Regions from separate parts of the Homo sapiens genome. Here regions 2, 3, 4 and 5 are each linked to region 1. The links are contacts of gene promoters, found by promoter capture Hi-C in blood cells and fetal thymus (Javierre and others, 2016). All regions are on one chromosome and are shown on one strand. Each heading gives the region's core, a stretch centred on a gene start or on the middle of the fragment in contact. The rest is flanking DNA. Distances are from core to core; before and after follow the strand shown.

Region 1 (2,735 bases), core at 165-2,664:
TTCCTAATTTTTGTAAAGATTCAATGCCACTTAAGCCCAGGGTCTTTTTGTCTACTACCATCAGACAATCTGTATTACAGCACACAATCTAATTAATTCTCAGGTAATGGCCCTCTCATCCCAGAATCTACAAAGCATTTTTCTTGAAAGGTCGTATACTATCTTTGTCTCTAAAACCTGGCAATTGATTTGGAGGCAAATTGGAGCAAGGTTAGGAAGCTATGGAACAGCTTTAAGAGTGCTGGATTTGGAGTTAATTTTAGGCTTTATAATTTTTTTAGTAACCTTAGACAATTCACTCCTTTTGTGTCTCATTTCCTAATTCTATAAGATGGAGTACTGCCCCTTCAAAGAGGTTTTACGACGATTTAATGACTTTGTAAAAACACAACTACAGTCTTATCTCCATTTACTATGCACCAAGAGAACCACTTATATGTCTGGGTGCCCGTTATTTTCTGAACAATTCAGGAATCATAATGTGACAAGAAAGAGAATATTTGAAATTGGACCCACGAGGTAAAATCCAGGCAGTATAGGTCATTTTCTTCCTGCTAGCATTCTGTTCTTGCTGAGGCTCACACTCAAAGTCAAATAACCTTTGGGTTATTCTTCCCACCCCCATTTCCCCCCAGATGGAGTCTCGCTCTGTTGCCCAGGCTGGAGTGCAATAGTGGCACGATCTCAGCTCACTGCAACCTCCGCCTCCCGGGTTCAAGCGATTCTCCTGCCTCAGCCTCCCGAGTAACTGGGATTACAGGCGCCTGCCACCACGCCCGGCTAATTTTTGGATTTTTTTTTTTTTTTTTTTTTTTTTAGTAGAGACGGGATTTCAGCATGTTGGCCAGGCTGGTCTCGAACTCCTTACCTCAGGTGATCCGCCCGCCTCGGCCTCTCAAAGTGCTGGGATTACAGGGGGGCGCGGCCAGGTTATTCTTAAACCCACTCCCTTGAAGTACCTGCAAAATGCTCACGTGCTGCTCTCTGGCCCGTTTGGAAACTCAGTCCCGTGAGTAGGACGTCCACCTCATTGGTGGTGTTTAAATATTAAGTGTCAAATGCTAGAGACAGTACAAAACCCACCAGAGGGGGCCTTCCTAACACGTTGGCATAAGGATCCAAACGGAATACGGGGATAGGAGAGGTGACCTCGTGCAGTTTCAGGGAGGAGTCCATCACCTGACTGGACTGGGCCTTTCAGGGGGACGAGAACGTATTTCTTCCAACGAAACCTGAATAACCAGCTATCTGCCTGGGACGCCGCGAGGCAGAAGTAGGCGGGCCCATTGACTTAGTGTCAAGGCGGAGGCCGCGCTTCATGCCAGCGGTCACGGAGGCAGCGGAAAGCCGAGCCAGGCGCCTGCGCGCTGGGAAGAGTAGGTTCAGAGTGCATTCCGGAACCCGGGGCGCGGCGCACTGCGCAGGCGGCCGGACTCCGCTCAGTTTCCGGTGCGGCGAACACCAAAGTCCGGGAACTTAAGCATTTTCGGTTTCTAGGGTTGTTACGAAGCTGCAGGAGCGAGATGGAGGTGGACGCACCGGGTGTTGATGGTCGAGATGGTCTCCGGGAGCGGCGAGGCTTTAGCGAGGGAGGGAGGCAGAACTTCGATGTGAGGCCTCAGTCTGGGGCAAATGGGCTTCCCAAACACTCCTACTGGTTGGACCTCTGGCTTTTCATCCTTTTCGATGTGGTGGTGTTTCTCTTTGTGTATTTTTTGCCATGGTGAGTATCTCGAATGCAAAATTGGGGTGGTAAGGAGCTTAGAGATCATTTGCTCGCTTTTGGGCGGGGAGGGGACTGAATTCCAGAGAGTTTATATATGTCCAAGATCACACAGCTGGTGAGTGGCGCAGTCGGGTGGGTGGGGGAGAAGGACTAGGAGTAAAATGTCCTTCTTTAGCACGTCCGTGGGAGTCTCCAAAGAAGTGTGGAGAAAACTTGGCGTCATATTTTCTCATGATTTGGAATGAAACCAGCTAGGCTTGAGTTCCTGCAGCACCATGAAGCGACCGGAGAAGTTATTTCGCCTTTTGGAGCTTTATTTTTTCATCTGCCATTTGGGACCATTAGTAACCCAGGTCATAGGGGTGTAGTGAAGATTGAGATCGTAGTGATTTGCATGTTGCCTGGCAGTAGTAAGTGCTCAACGAAAGCTATTTTTACTATACAGCTGTTTAACCATGAGCAGACCACGCAGCTGTCTCAAACTAAACATGTCCAAAACTGAACTCTTAACAGCTTCTTACCCAAATTTACTTGCCTTGCAGCGTTACCATTTCAGTAAACGCCAACTTTATCCACCGTTACCTCCCAGAAACCTGAGACACTTTGCCCTTTTCTTACACACATCCACATATCCTAAAACACCAAGTTACAAAATTCTGTAGAGTTTACTTGTAAAACCCATGCTCTCCATTTTCATCGCCACTCGCTCTGAAAAGACAATTCTGGCAGAGGGTAAAGGAAGGGAACTTAAGAGAATAGGGCAGGAGGAAGCAGACACCAAATGGAGATGGTGTTAAGAGACAAGCTAAGGAGAAGCAGTGAGATGAAACAGGGCTCCTATGGGAGAAGAGCAGTGTAGCCCATCTAGACAGCTCTCCTGGACTTTGGAGTTGATTGTTCACTCACTGTTAACTCCTTAGTCACCATGCCTATGAGTTACTTCTGAAATTCTCACTTCTTGATAGGCAGTCACTTCTTCTACACCCCCAACCCCCATCCTATATTTTCA
Region 2 (2,735 bases), core at 165-2,664, 770 kb before region 1:
TTTAATTTATGTTTTAACCTAGGAAAATAAGCTTTACTAAAAAAATGGATTTCAAAAAATGGACTGACATTGCACACTCACACAGTCTCCATGTCAGAAGGTCACGTTCTTACTCATATGTGGAAGTTAAAAAAGTTGATCCCACAGAAGTAAAAAGTACAACAGAGAATACTAGAGGCTGGGAAGGGTAGGCGGAAAGAGAGGACAGAGAGATTTGTTAAAGGAAACAAAATTACAGCTAGATAAGAGTAAGTTCTAGTGTTCTACAGCACTTGTAGGATGACTACATCCTACAAGTTAATAATAGTTTAAAATAGCTAGAATGGGGATATTGAATGTTTGAAACACAAAGAAATTATAAATGTTTAAGATGATAGATAGGCTGATTACCCTGATCTGATCACTATACATTGTATAGACCACAACATCACTATGCACCCTGTAAATATGTACAATTATTATTTGTCAGTTTTAAAAATTTAGAAAAAAAAGGGAGTCATAGGCCATGATTGGTACCCTGAGGAAATGCAAGTCAGCTGTGCCAGATTTACTGGCTCTTTCTCTTTGCAGTACTGTGCTAACAAGAACTTCAGAAAAATTAACATTCTTCCATTCCGTTTTTCAAAAGACACTCATGTTATGGAAGGAGCACGTTTGAATAAACTTTTTTTTTTTTTTGAGATGGAGTCTCGCTCTGTCACCCAGGTTGGAATGCAGTGGCACGATCTCAGCTCACTGCAAGCTCCAGCTCCCGGGTTCATGCCATTCTCCTGCCTCAGCCTCCTGAGTAGCTGGGACTACAGGTGCCCGCCACCACACCCGGCTAATTTTTTGTATTTTTTTTTTTTTTACAGGGTTTCACTGTGTTAGCCAGGATGGTCTCAATCTCCTGACCTCGTCATCCGCCCTCCTCAGCCTCCCAAAGTGCTGGGATTACAGGCATGAGCCACCGCACCTGGCCTGGATAAACTATTTTTTAAAAAAGTCTCATCTGTACAATTGAAAAGTTTGGAAACAGAGTTCTCTAAACTATAATTTTTCTAAATTACAAATTAGTTCCAAAACTAACTAAAAGGTCAAACAATGCATTTAATTAGTTCCCAAACTAATAGGAAGGTATTGTTTTGATATTTTTTTAAAAAAAAAAGGGTTAAAAAACTGCTTAAACCATTGTTTTTGAACACATTCATTAAAATTATTAAAATATCATATGTCACTTTTTAACCAGCTTGTAAGAACACCTAATTGGTACCATTAAATTGAAATTTAATAATCCCTTTTCAGCAAAAACTTTGCATAATTGCTAATACAGGTAAATAAAAAGAATAAGAAGTCAACAATGTACTTTCTTCCATTTGGACCTTCATATCTTTGTGGTGTATCTCTTTTAGCTCTGCTGGCCAAAAAACACAAACCCCCCAAAACAAACAAAAAAACTATTAAAATAAGCTGAATTATTAGACTTGTAAACCACTCTTTCAAAAATAATTAAACCATGATTTTTAAAAGCAATGAAACATATTCACTGCAAAAATCTTAATATGGTTATTAATATATTTAGTGAAAGTAAAAATAATTTATTTTCTAATAATATAAACAGAATTATTTTAAAAGTATTTCTCATCTTTCTTAATTTCGAACAACTGGTATGATTTAAACACATATGCTATACCTAACACTGTGGAAAATGTTTATAATTTAGAGATAAATAACCAACATTTACATAAGTATATTCATAACTTTTTCTGTTACTGATAGTACACACTATTTTGGAAAACAAGACCTTTGAGAAAGAGAAGAGAAAGGTGCATTCACATTTCCAGATTGCTTCAAATAATCTCCCTACAAGTTCCAGTCTCCCAGGAGGTACAGGCAAGTGTACTTGGGGCATAAGTAGAACTATGACCTGCCTTTCCCACACTCCTGATCTTTTTCCTAAGTCAGGCAGGCAAGCATTGTAAGTGTGGAATGCTACACCTACAATGTCCCGAAGATGTTCATCTTCTATGTTATGAGTACTTTTGGCTGCTTTTGGGAGTTAAGTATTATAATTTCTTCTTATTTCAATGTAGACTAACTCAATAAGAATCTTATTATTCTTAAAATAGCTCAAAATTAATGAATCTTAATGTAAAATTCCAAAAACAAAAAGAGCCTATCTTATCGTCTAACTATACAAATTAATAACCACACTTTACATTTAAATCTCAAAATTCTGTGGATACATTTTAAAATAACTAAATGCTATGATCTATTGTTTCTCATACTATAGTCTACAAGTATACTCTTGGAAATATTCTTAATTAAATAAAACTTCAAATTTTCTTTTATTTTGATGATGTTGTAACAGAGATTAAGAAAGATCCTTAAAACAGAGAATTGCCATCTACCTGAGTGCAAAAAGTTAGAATCTGTATTTGTAAACATATTAGGATTAAGCAATCATGAAAGACACCATTTATTTTTAATCCACTTGATCTCCAAGTTTAAACCAAAAGCTCTCAAGTTCAGTAAGCCTTTTTGTTGTTGTTGGCTGATGTTAAAAGGGTACATTATTCAAGAATTTTAAAAAAGTCATATTCAATTTATAAATTGAAAAGTTCAGCACAAATAATGGAATTAATGTGCATGACTGATCTGAAACCTGATAAATATGGCTTGACTACCTTATTGTTTGAATGAGCTATAAACACAAGGCAAGTTATGAGAAAACCGTTCCAGTCAAAAAAGCTGAG
Region 3 (2,735 bases), core at 130-2,629, 610 kb after region 1:
GGGAGGCCAAGGCAGGTGGATCACCAGGTAAAGAGATCAAGACCATCCTGGCCAACATGGTGAAACCCTGTCTCTACTAAAAATACAAAAATTAGCTGGGCATGGTGGTGCACCAAGTCCCAGCTACTTGGGAGGCTGAGGCAGAAGAATCCCTTAGAATCCAGGAGGCGGAGGTTGCAGTGAGCCGAGATTGTGCCATTACACTCCAGCCTGGCGACAGAGCGAGACTCCGTCACAAAAAAAAAAAAAGGAAAAGAAAAGAAAAAGATAAGAAAACTGATATAATGGTCTTAATGTAACTGGTGATAACATATGCCACTGACAATTATTTTAGCACATCTTAAAATTAGGCTTTCCATCAAATTTGTTTTCCTGGATATGAATCTATCATTTGGATTTATGTTTTCTTTGACCATAAACTTATTTCACTCTCTACTTGCCTTATATTCTTCCATTTTGTCTTCATCTGTCTCTCCTTCATCCAGATACTTACGTTTTGCATTTGGAGCAGAGGTATCATAGGAAGCCCTGAAAAATAAACAGAAATATTACCCATAAATATATACAAGATGTATAAATGCATCTATTAATAATAATAAACAGGTTATAAAAACAGAACAAGACAAATTTTTCCTGATTAAAGAATATCTATCTACGCAGTTTATAAGTCATCCAAAAAGTCAAATAACCTGATTGATAATTCTGTGTTTCATTTTTATCAGAAAGCAACCAAATGAGAAAATAAGCTGCTATAAGGGATATATTGAAAATAAATTTATATAGTATGTATTATTTTAATCTGTTTTGAGCAAAACAGACGTACAAATTGAAAACTAGAATAGCGAAAAAATTTTGAAATGCTTTCTGAACTACCAAATAAATACCACTTTTAGGATAAAGTATATTTTCTTTTATAAAAATTTTTAGGCTGGGCATGGTGGGTCATGCCTGTAATCCCAGCACTTTGGGAGGCCAAGGCAGGCGGATCAAAAAGTCAAGAGATCGAGACCAGCCTGGCCAACATGATGAAACCCCATGTTTACTAAAAATACAAAAATTAGCTGGGGGTGGTGGCGCGCACCTGTAGTCCCAGCTACTGGGGAGGCTGAGGCAGGAGAATTGCTTCAACCCTGGAGGCGGAGGTTGCAGTGAGCCGAGATTGCGCCACTGCACTCAAGCCTGGTGACAGAGCGAGACTCTATTTCCAAAAAAATGTTTAAATATACTTGTTTATTTATAGTATATATGCTAATTCTTAGTCTAACATTCCATTTTCTAAGTACTTTACAAATGGGAACTTACTATCCTCAGAAAATAAATATTTTATAATTAATGAACTGACAATAAAAACCATTGTGTCTAAAATCATTATTTTGATGCTTTTCTTAATACACTGCATACCTACCTAGGGTTATTTATTAAAACAGTAATCCTTTCACATTTTTTTTTTTTTTTTGAGACGGAGTCTCACTCTGTCTCCCAGGCTGCAGTGCAGTGGCACAATCTTGGCTCAGCTCACTACAATCTCCGCCTCCCGGTTTCAAGCAATTCTACTGCCTAAGGCTCCCGAGTAGCGGGGATTACAGGAGCCCGCCACCATGTCTGGCTAATTTTTGTATTTTTAGTAGAGATGGGATTTCACCATGTTGGCCAGACTGGCCTCGAACTCCCGACTTCCTGGGCTCAAGTGATCCACCTGCCTCGGCACAGTGGCTCATATCTGTAATCTCAGCACTTTGGGAGGCCAAGGCAGGTGTACCACTTGAGCCCAGGAGTCAAGGCTGCAGTGAGCCATAATCATGCTACTGTACTCCAGCCTATCCAGCCTAAGCAACAGAGTGAAACCCTGTCTCAAAAAAAAAAAAAAAAAGAATTATCTGACTGACCTGCAAGTTTCTCTTGTTTCAGCAATTTCTCTCTGCTCATCTTTGCTATTTAACACGGCACCAATGCTGTCGGCACTTTCAGCTCCCAACTGAGAAAAGACAAAATCAGAAATTAGATTGCAATGCACTGGATAGCCTTTCTGGGCATTTGTAGCAGCATTTAATACATTAAATACTTAAAAAACAAAAACACCTTAATTCACACACACACACACACACACAAAACAATGAATTAATCAGCTTGCAAGACAAACTGGAAAAACTCTGGAAAAAAACCGCATTAATTAAGATGAGTTTGACAGCTGGCAAAACATTTTATGCTTTCAGTTATACAGCGGCTCCTTGATTTATGATGAGGTTATGTCCTGATAAACCCATTGTAAGTTGAAAGTAAATCTGTTTCAAAATAAACGTTGTAAGTGTGTTTTCAAGTTACAATATTTTCCACTTATGATGGGTTTATCAGAACACAACTCCACCGTAAGTCAATGAGCAGCCTGGATGCCTATCACTCTCAAACCATCATAAAGTCAATTGTTAAGTCAAATGATAGTAAGTCTGGAACCATCTGTATTTGAAAATAAGACACTTTAGCCAATTTCCTGTGAAGCAATACACACGATTTAATATAAAATGAGCATTCCAAATCTGAAAATCCAAAATCCAAAACGCTCCAAAATCTGGAACTTTTTGAGTACTGACATGACATTCAAAGGAAATGGTCACTGAAGCATTCCGATTTTGAGTTTTGGTATTTGGCATGCTCAACCAGTAAGTAATATGCAAATATTCCAAATCCTGAAAAAAATCTGAAATCCAAAACACTTCTGGCCCAAGCATTTCAGATAA
Region 4 (2,735 bases), core at 155-2,654, 560 kb after region 1:
CAAATCCCTCACAGATAACGAGAGACAACTGTGTGTGTGTGTGTGTGTGTGTATATATATATATAGGAACCATATATATTTATGGTTCGGCAATTCCATACTTCCTAAGTGTTTGGTGATAGAATGAGCTCATTCATCCTCAGAGTCAAATATCAATGTGAGCTTTCATAATGGAGAAAAATATATTTTATGTAAAATATACTTAAGATAATGTTTTTAAAAGTGACTGCATATTTGTTTTAAATTATTGGGATTTTAGGGATCAATTCATTACACTTCTCTTTTCCAAGCCTGATTGAGAGAGATATTCAAGAGACAATCAAAATGTCAGCACTATAATGGGCCTGAGTCTGCAGGCAAGTGGGCTTGCTGATTCACCCCTGAATTTCACAAACTTATGCGCCCCGGCACAGAGTGGGCACGATCTGAGTTTCTCCTGTGGACCCCTGTGCCTTGAAAAAAACACTGTATTGAGGGACAGAAAATATGTGCCTCCTGCAGGCAAGCTGCCTTCCTATGGAGAGGACCCAGAAGAGGCTGGGCTGTGCCCACCCAGTTCCTTTTCCCAAACTTATTAATCAGATGAGTCACTCCCCATCACCTAAGGAGAAGGGGTCAGGGGTGTACCTCTAATGTGTGTGCCTGGGCAGGCGTGGAGGCATGGACTGGGAAGGTGTATTCTCCAACATAAATGACAAATGTTAGTCATCATCTGTTTTTATTAATCATCAATAAAATTATGAATAGAGACTAGTTACATATTTCTTTATAAACTAAGGGACTTGATAAGACCAAAGATTGTAAATGAAATAAAATTGAAAAAGCTTTAACAACTCTTTCTAAGACTTCTGGATAAAAGTATGTTTTTTCAGATACACTCTAGAAAATAAACTTTTAATAATCATACAGAATTCTGACCCTTACTGATTCTACCCACATTCTGGGTATTGAGGTACATGAAGCCTACCATGCTAATCAATTTTAGCTCCTTTTCCAGTTAGGGGGATAAATTTCATCAGAAGCTTTCCCCCCCCCACTTTTCCAAAAAGGACTTTATCATCTTCCATTCCTGGCATATGTGAATTGTGCTGGGGTTCTTGCTAGGTCCTTTGCTATGTACTGGTGTGATCATCTACATGGTAGTGACTTGGCTTCAAAGAGCAGCCTACCAAGTGATGTGTAGGCAGGGGGTGCTCTGTGGTGTAATCATCCAGGCTTATTACTTTTTTTTTTCTATTTAAGTTTTTGAGTTACTTGCCAACCCCATGTCATTTCTGATATAAAAGGATATTTACTTGTACCTCAGTGTATCCATAATTATTACTGATTCTTTCAATGTTACTAAAAAAGAAATGTTATAATGCAGCAGAGGAAAAGCCAGTAAGATGTAAACAGGCAGTAAAATATTTTATAATAAAAGAGTGTTAATGTTGCCTATGCTGCCATTCAGTTGTTTGTTTACTCCAGTTGTTGCAAAACTGAATCCTGCCGTAGCATTTCTTTCTTATCTTCAACAATACAAATTTTAATAGTCTTTTCCATTCAATAACATTGTAAGATAAAAATGATGGTCAAGAACTATGCAGGCACCACCCAGTTGTATGTAAGCAACTAAAGGGATTATTGTAAAGATTGTGTCTATGATCTCCCTCTTTCCTTTCCTCCTTCATTCCCTTCGTGTTTGGGACTGGGGGGAAGGGATGAGATGCGTGCGTCAGTGTCTCTCCTATGTGTCAAGTAGTAGTGAGAATTTCCTAAAGAGTTTCACTGACAGATGAGAAGCTTTAGAAGCTCAGCTAGTTTGTTTCCTCTCTTGGGTGACCTCTGAGCTCAGTATTGTGCACATGTGCATATTATATAAATGTTGCTTAGTTGTGGAATGTGGACAGTTTTCAGAAATACGGTGATCGTAGAGTAGTTAACAGGGCTAGGAGAAGGGGTTTCTACTTTCCCTGACATAGCTTCACAAAGCTCTGAATGTGGTCAGACTTAAAAAGCCCCAATTGCAAGGTCTTTCCCTAGCCTCATTAAACGGGTATTATACATTGGGTCTTAACCTTGTCTCTAACCCTAAGCCACTGAGTGGATCACTTATGCTCTCTTAATTTTCCCATTTGCAATTAATAACCGATTTTCTCATCCAAGTGTTAAAATGAAAGAAAATAATAGATGAGATTTTAGTTTCAAAAGTTAAGAAACACTGTCCAAAAATGCTATATTTTCTTTAACCAAAGAAGCATAATATATAATAAAAAAATATGCTAAATCGGGATTTTAAAAATAATTATTATAACTCAGGATTAAAATGAGAACGTTATTTTAAGTATTTTACTGCCATCTGGTGGACATTGATTAGACTTTTATTTTTTAGATGCACTTGGATAGACAACAATTTTTGAACGACCTCAGAAATGATATTGAAAAGAAAATAGGCTTTGATGCTATTATGAGGGTTCGTACCAGCACAGGTAATTATCATTTATACAATTCTTCGGGTCTCTCTTGAATAATTGTTTCTTTTTCAAATTAATAACAGGCCAACAAAGAAAATAACAGTAGAATAAAGACAAGCAAAATTTCCCTTTTTCCCTTATCTTTAGGTTTCAGAGCCACTGATTTCTTTGGTGGAATCTTGATGAACAACACCACCGATGTAGAAATGGCTGCCATCGATTGTGACAAGGCAGTGACCGTGGAGTTCAAGCACGATGACAAACTCAGTGAAGACAGTGGAG
Region 5 (2,735 bases), core at 172-2,671, 530 kb after region 1:
TCTCACTTGTGGTCCAAAATCAACCAGTGTTTATATACATACACAAGAGATACATTTTATTCAATTAAAGCACTTTTATTAAAATTAGTATCAGCACAGTATTTGGCACACCCGTTAATCCAAAAATACAAGGAAAAGATTCACATTTTTCCTCAGCCTCCCTATCACTTTCATGTTGTGTAAACTCAGGCCACACAGGGCCAGAACCAAACAATAGCCAGGTGAGGTTTTTATAGCCAGTCTTTCTATCCTTTCACTTTTCCACTTAAGAACAGAAAAGAAAGGGCAGACAGGGATATACTAAGAGCTAAATATTAAAGTATATTTGTAAACAAAATTTTTAAAATCTGAAAATATTTCTGAGGTAAATATAATTCCCTTGGTAAGGAAAAAAGATAACTTAGGCAATTTTTTGAAAAGTAACTTGATTTTTTTTTAAAGCCATGCACACCAAGATCGAACTCAAAAGAAAAGTAAGGTTAGCTATTTATGAGCTCATGCACACTGTGGTGCAGATAAGCTGACATCTGGAGAGTGCAAAGGGAAATCTTTGATGCTTTTCAACATGGCCTGAGAGAGATGAAACAAGCCAGTGTAATTTAGAAGCCCTTGCCCTGTTGCCTGAAAATAAAATGTAAACAGTTAAAAAGCTTTTAACATTCTTTACTGTCACCTCAGTTTTCTGAAGACCTTACTTACCTATCCATCATCTGGTTTCTAAAAAAGTGAAAATTGAAAAAACTGTAAGTGTATTTAATAGCCTAGACACAGTCATGACTTGACTCCAGTTTCCTGTTAGACATTGATTTTCAGTCCTGCAAGTTTGAATCTGTCAGGACTGGAATGCATAGGTGTTCATTGCCGACAATTTCACAGTAATTTTAGGCTGGGTCTGGTTTTGAGCAAATCATATCAGTGATAATAAGGTCAAATTTGCTTCCATTACTTTTGGCTTGTCTAGCATATAATTGGATCTTATTTGGTTTCTAAAATCAGGGGATTTGTTACAGCCTTTGGACTTTTTGAAAATAAAAGGATGAGAAAAGTAAACTTGGCTGAGTGAATGGAAACTGCAGAATTTCTCCCAATTTTAACTTCTGAAAGCATCTCCTGATCTCAGAGGTTGGAGTTGTGGAACAGAGCAGTAACTGGAGTCATGATTGGTAATTGTACTTTTAATCCAGAGGAAGCTACCTGAACAGCACATATTTGTTGTCTTCCGCTTCTTACTCTTCTAGCTTTCCATTTATTGTTCTAAGAATCTCTTTTTTTTGTACCTGCATGCTTTTGCTTCTCTCTTGCCTCCTCAAGTAATTTCTTCCTATTACCAGCTGAAGAGAACAAACATTTGTCACTATATGCCTTTCTAACAAAAAGTTTGTCTGAAAGAGTGGTGTATACATCAGATATATGAATTTGTATGTGTGAGTATGTATTTAAATAAAGTTCCTGGAGTGTTTTAAAAATCCATTCTGCTTCTCAACTTTTAACCATTAGAGTGTATCAGAATCCCCTGAAAGTTTATTCTCTGTCTTCTAGATCATTTTTACAATAATGTTTTTACAATAACTGACCAGGTAGCCTTCAGGACCTGAAGCCCATCTCATACTTGCCCTCCTGTCAAAGATGACTTTGTCCTGAGCTGAGTGGTTTTGAGAGAGGAAAGGCTGTTCTGGATAAAAATTTTCCAACTACTTTTTGCCAGGCACAATGCTGTACACTGCACATGTATTACTCACCTAATCCTTGTCACAACCCCTACCAGTGGGGCACCAGAGCCAGGCCCATGCTGTGGATCAGAAGCGACCATAAACAAGAAAATCCAATCTGTCTTCTGGCTTTCTTGAGGCAAGATGCGGGGAAGAGGGCATTGCAGAAATAGAGGGGAATGATTAAAGAAAAAATTTAAATCCTTCCCCGATTCTTTTGAGTATTGTGTTAATAAACCTGTTTTTTTCTGCTCTGAGACCTCCCAAATGATTTCTGAAACCTCAGCTTTCACTTTGAACATCTGGGCAGGGACAATGGGGGATCTCGGTTTTCTAAGACTGAAGCAGAAAACGGCCTGATGCCCCTACCCCACTGACCTCCTGCTCTTCAGGCCTCCGTTCAAAAGCAGTCTGCTTTATTTGTATCTTTTTCAGTAAAGAAAAATTTAATTGACATGCCAAAGCCTGCAATTCTCAAGCTTTTCTTTAAATGTTATCTTTAAGGAGATTTACAAAAACAAGTATCTCTGTGGTTTTCTCCCGAAAGCCAGAAGAGTTGGGAAGGCAGACTTAATGCTGAACTTTTTTACTTTTAAACTGTAAAAGATGTATCATGCTTTCTATGTATGTTTATGAGGAAGAAGCAATTGAATGATTTATTTTTTCAGTTCTGGCAAAGCATGGCCAGCTACACTGTGAGTATTCTGTGAAACGTTTTTTTCTGATAAACTAACAGAAAAGGTAGAATCGACCGCCTTGCCTAAATAAATGAACATTATTGCATATTTCTTCAAATAGCTGCATTTTTGAAGAAATAGTTTATGTGCTTTGGGGGAACTACATAGACAGCATACTGCTATGCAAACTAGAACTTTTTAAATCAGGCCCAACTCTCTTTATTTATAATCTATGAAGAAACTTAGCAAAATAGGTGACACAAGTTGTCTAGAATGTTTTTAACGTAAGTATAAGTAGGTATTATTACCATCACTATATGTTCTCTCTCCACACACATATTGGCAAATA

What was found. Contacts are between HindIII fragments. The CHiCAGO score rates a contact against its expected background, and 5 or more counts as called.
Region 2: a contact is called between a fragment that was not itself captured here and the fragment with the promoter of ARLN in region 1, in 1 of 17 cell types (total CD4 T cells). The highest score is 5.6, in total CD4 T cells.
Region 3: a fragment that was not itself captured here is called in contact with the fragment with the promoter of ARLN in region 1 in 1 of 17 cell types (total B cells); the score reaches 5.1 in total B cells.
Region 4: a fragment that was not itself captured here is called in contact with the fragment with the promoter of ARLN in region 1 in 1 of 17 cell types (total B cells); the score reaches 6.4 in total B cells.
Region 5: a contact is called between a fragment that was not itself captured here and the fragment with the promoter of ARLN in region 1, in 1 of 17 cell types (total B cells). The highest score is 6.3, in total B cells.

The regions. Positions count from the first base shown.
Region 1 is chr4:119,299,324-119,302,058 of GRCh38, reverse strand. It overlaps ARLN (allregulin), which reads left to right and starts at 1,414. Exons shown (of 2, transcript NM_001001701.4): 1 at 1,414-1,723. The coding sequence starts at 1,524. RefSeq lists enhancers at 1,441-1,670, 1,771-1,820. The HindIII fragment of the contact is 14,870 bases long and covers 1-2,735 here.
Region 2 is chr4:120,073,757-120,076,491 of GRCh38, reverse strand. The region is part of intron 1 of MAD2L1-DT (MAD2L1 divergent transcript); the gene reads right to left. Among named protein-coding and RNA genes, the nearest start is that of MAD2L1-DT, 8.2 kb to the right of the region's middle. The HindIII fragment of the contact is 2,762 bases long and covers 34-2,735 here.
Region 3 is chr4:118,687,163-118,689,897 of GRCh38, reverse strand. It overlaps METTL14 (methyltransferase 14, N6-adenosine-methyltransferase non-catalytic subunit), which reads right to left. Exons shown (of 11, transcript NM_020961.4): 2 at 1,887-1,975; 3 at 441-528. Among named protein-coding and RNA genes, the nearest start is that of METTL14, 3.1 kb to the right of the region's middle. The HindIII fragment of the contact is 4,493 bases long and covers 1-2,735 here.
Region 4 is chr4:118,740,674-118,743,408 of GRCh38, reverse strand. SEC24D (SEC24 homolog D, COPII component) reads left to right here. Exons shown (of 23, transcript NM_014822.4): 16 at 2,372-2,468; 17 at 2,601-2,735. Among named protein-coding and RNA genes, the nearest start is that of METTL14, 57 kb to the right of the region's middle. The HindIII fragment of the contact is 760 bases long and covers 1,025-1,784 here.
Region 5 is chr4:118,768,877-118,771,611 of GRCh38, reverse strand. All of the region lies in intron 8 of SEC24D (SEC24 homolog D, COPII component), which reads left to right. Among named protein-coding and RNA genes, the nearest start is that of SEC24D, 66 kb to the left of the region's middle. The HindIII fragment of the contact is 1,538 bases long and covers 653-2,190 here.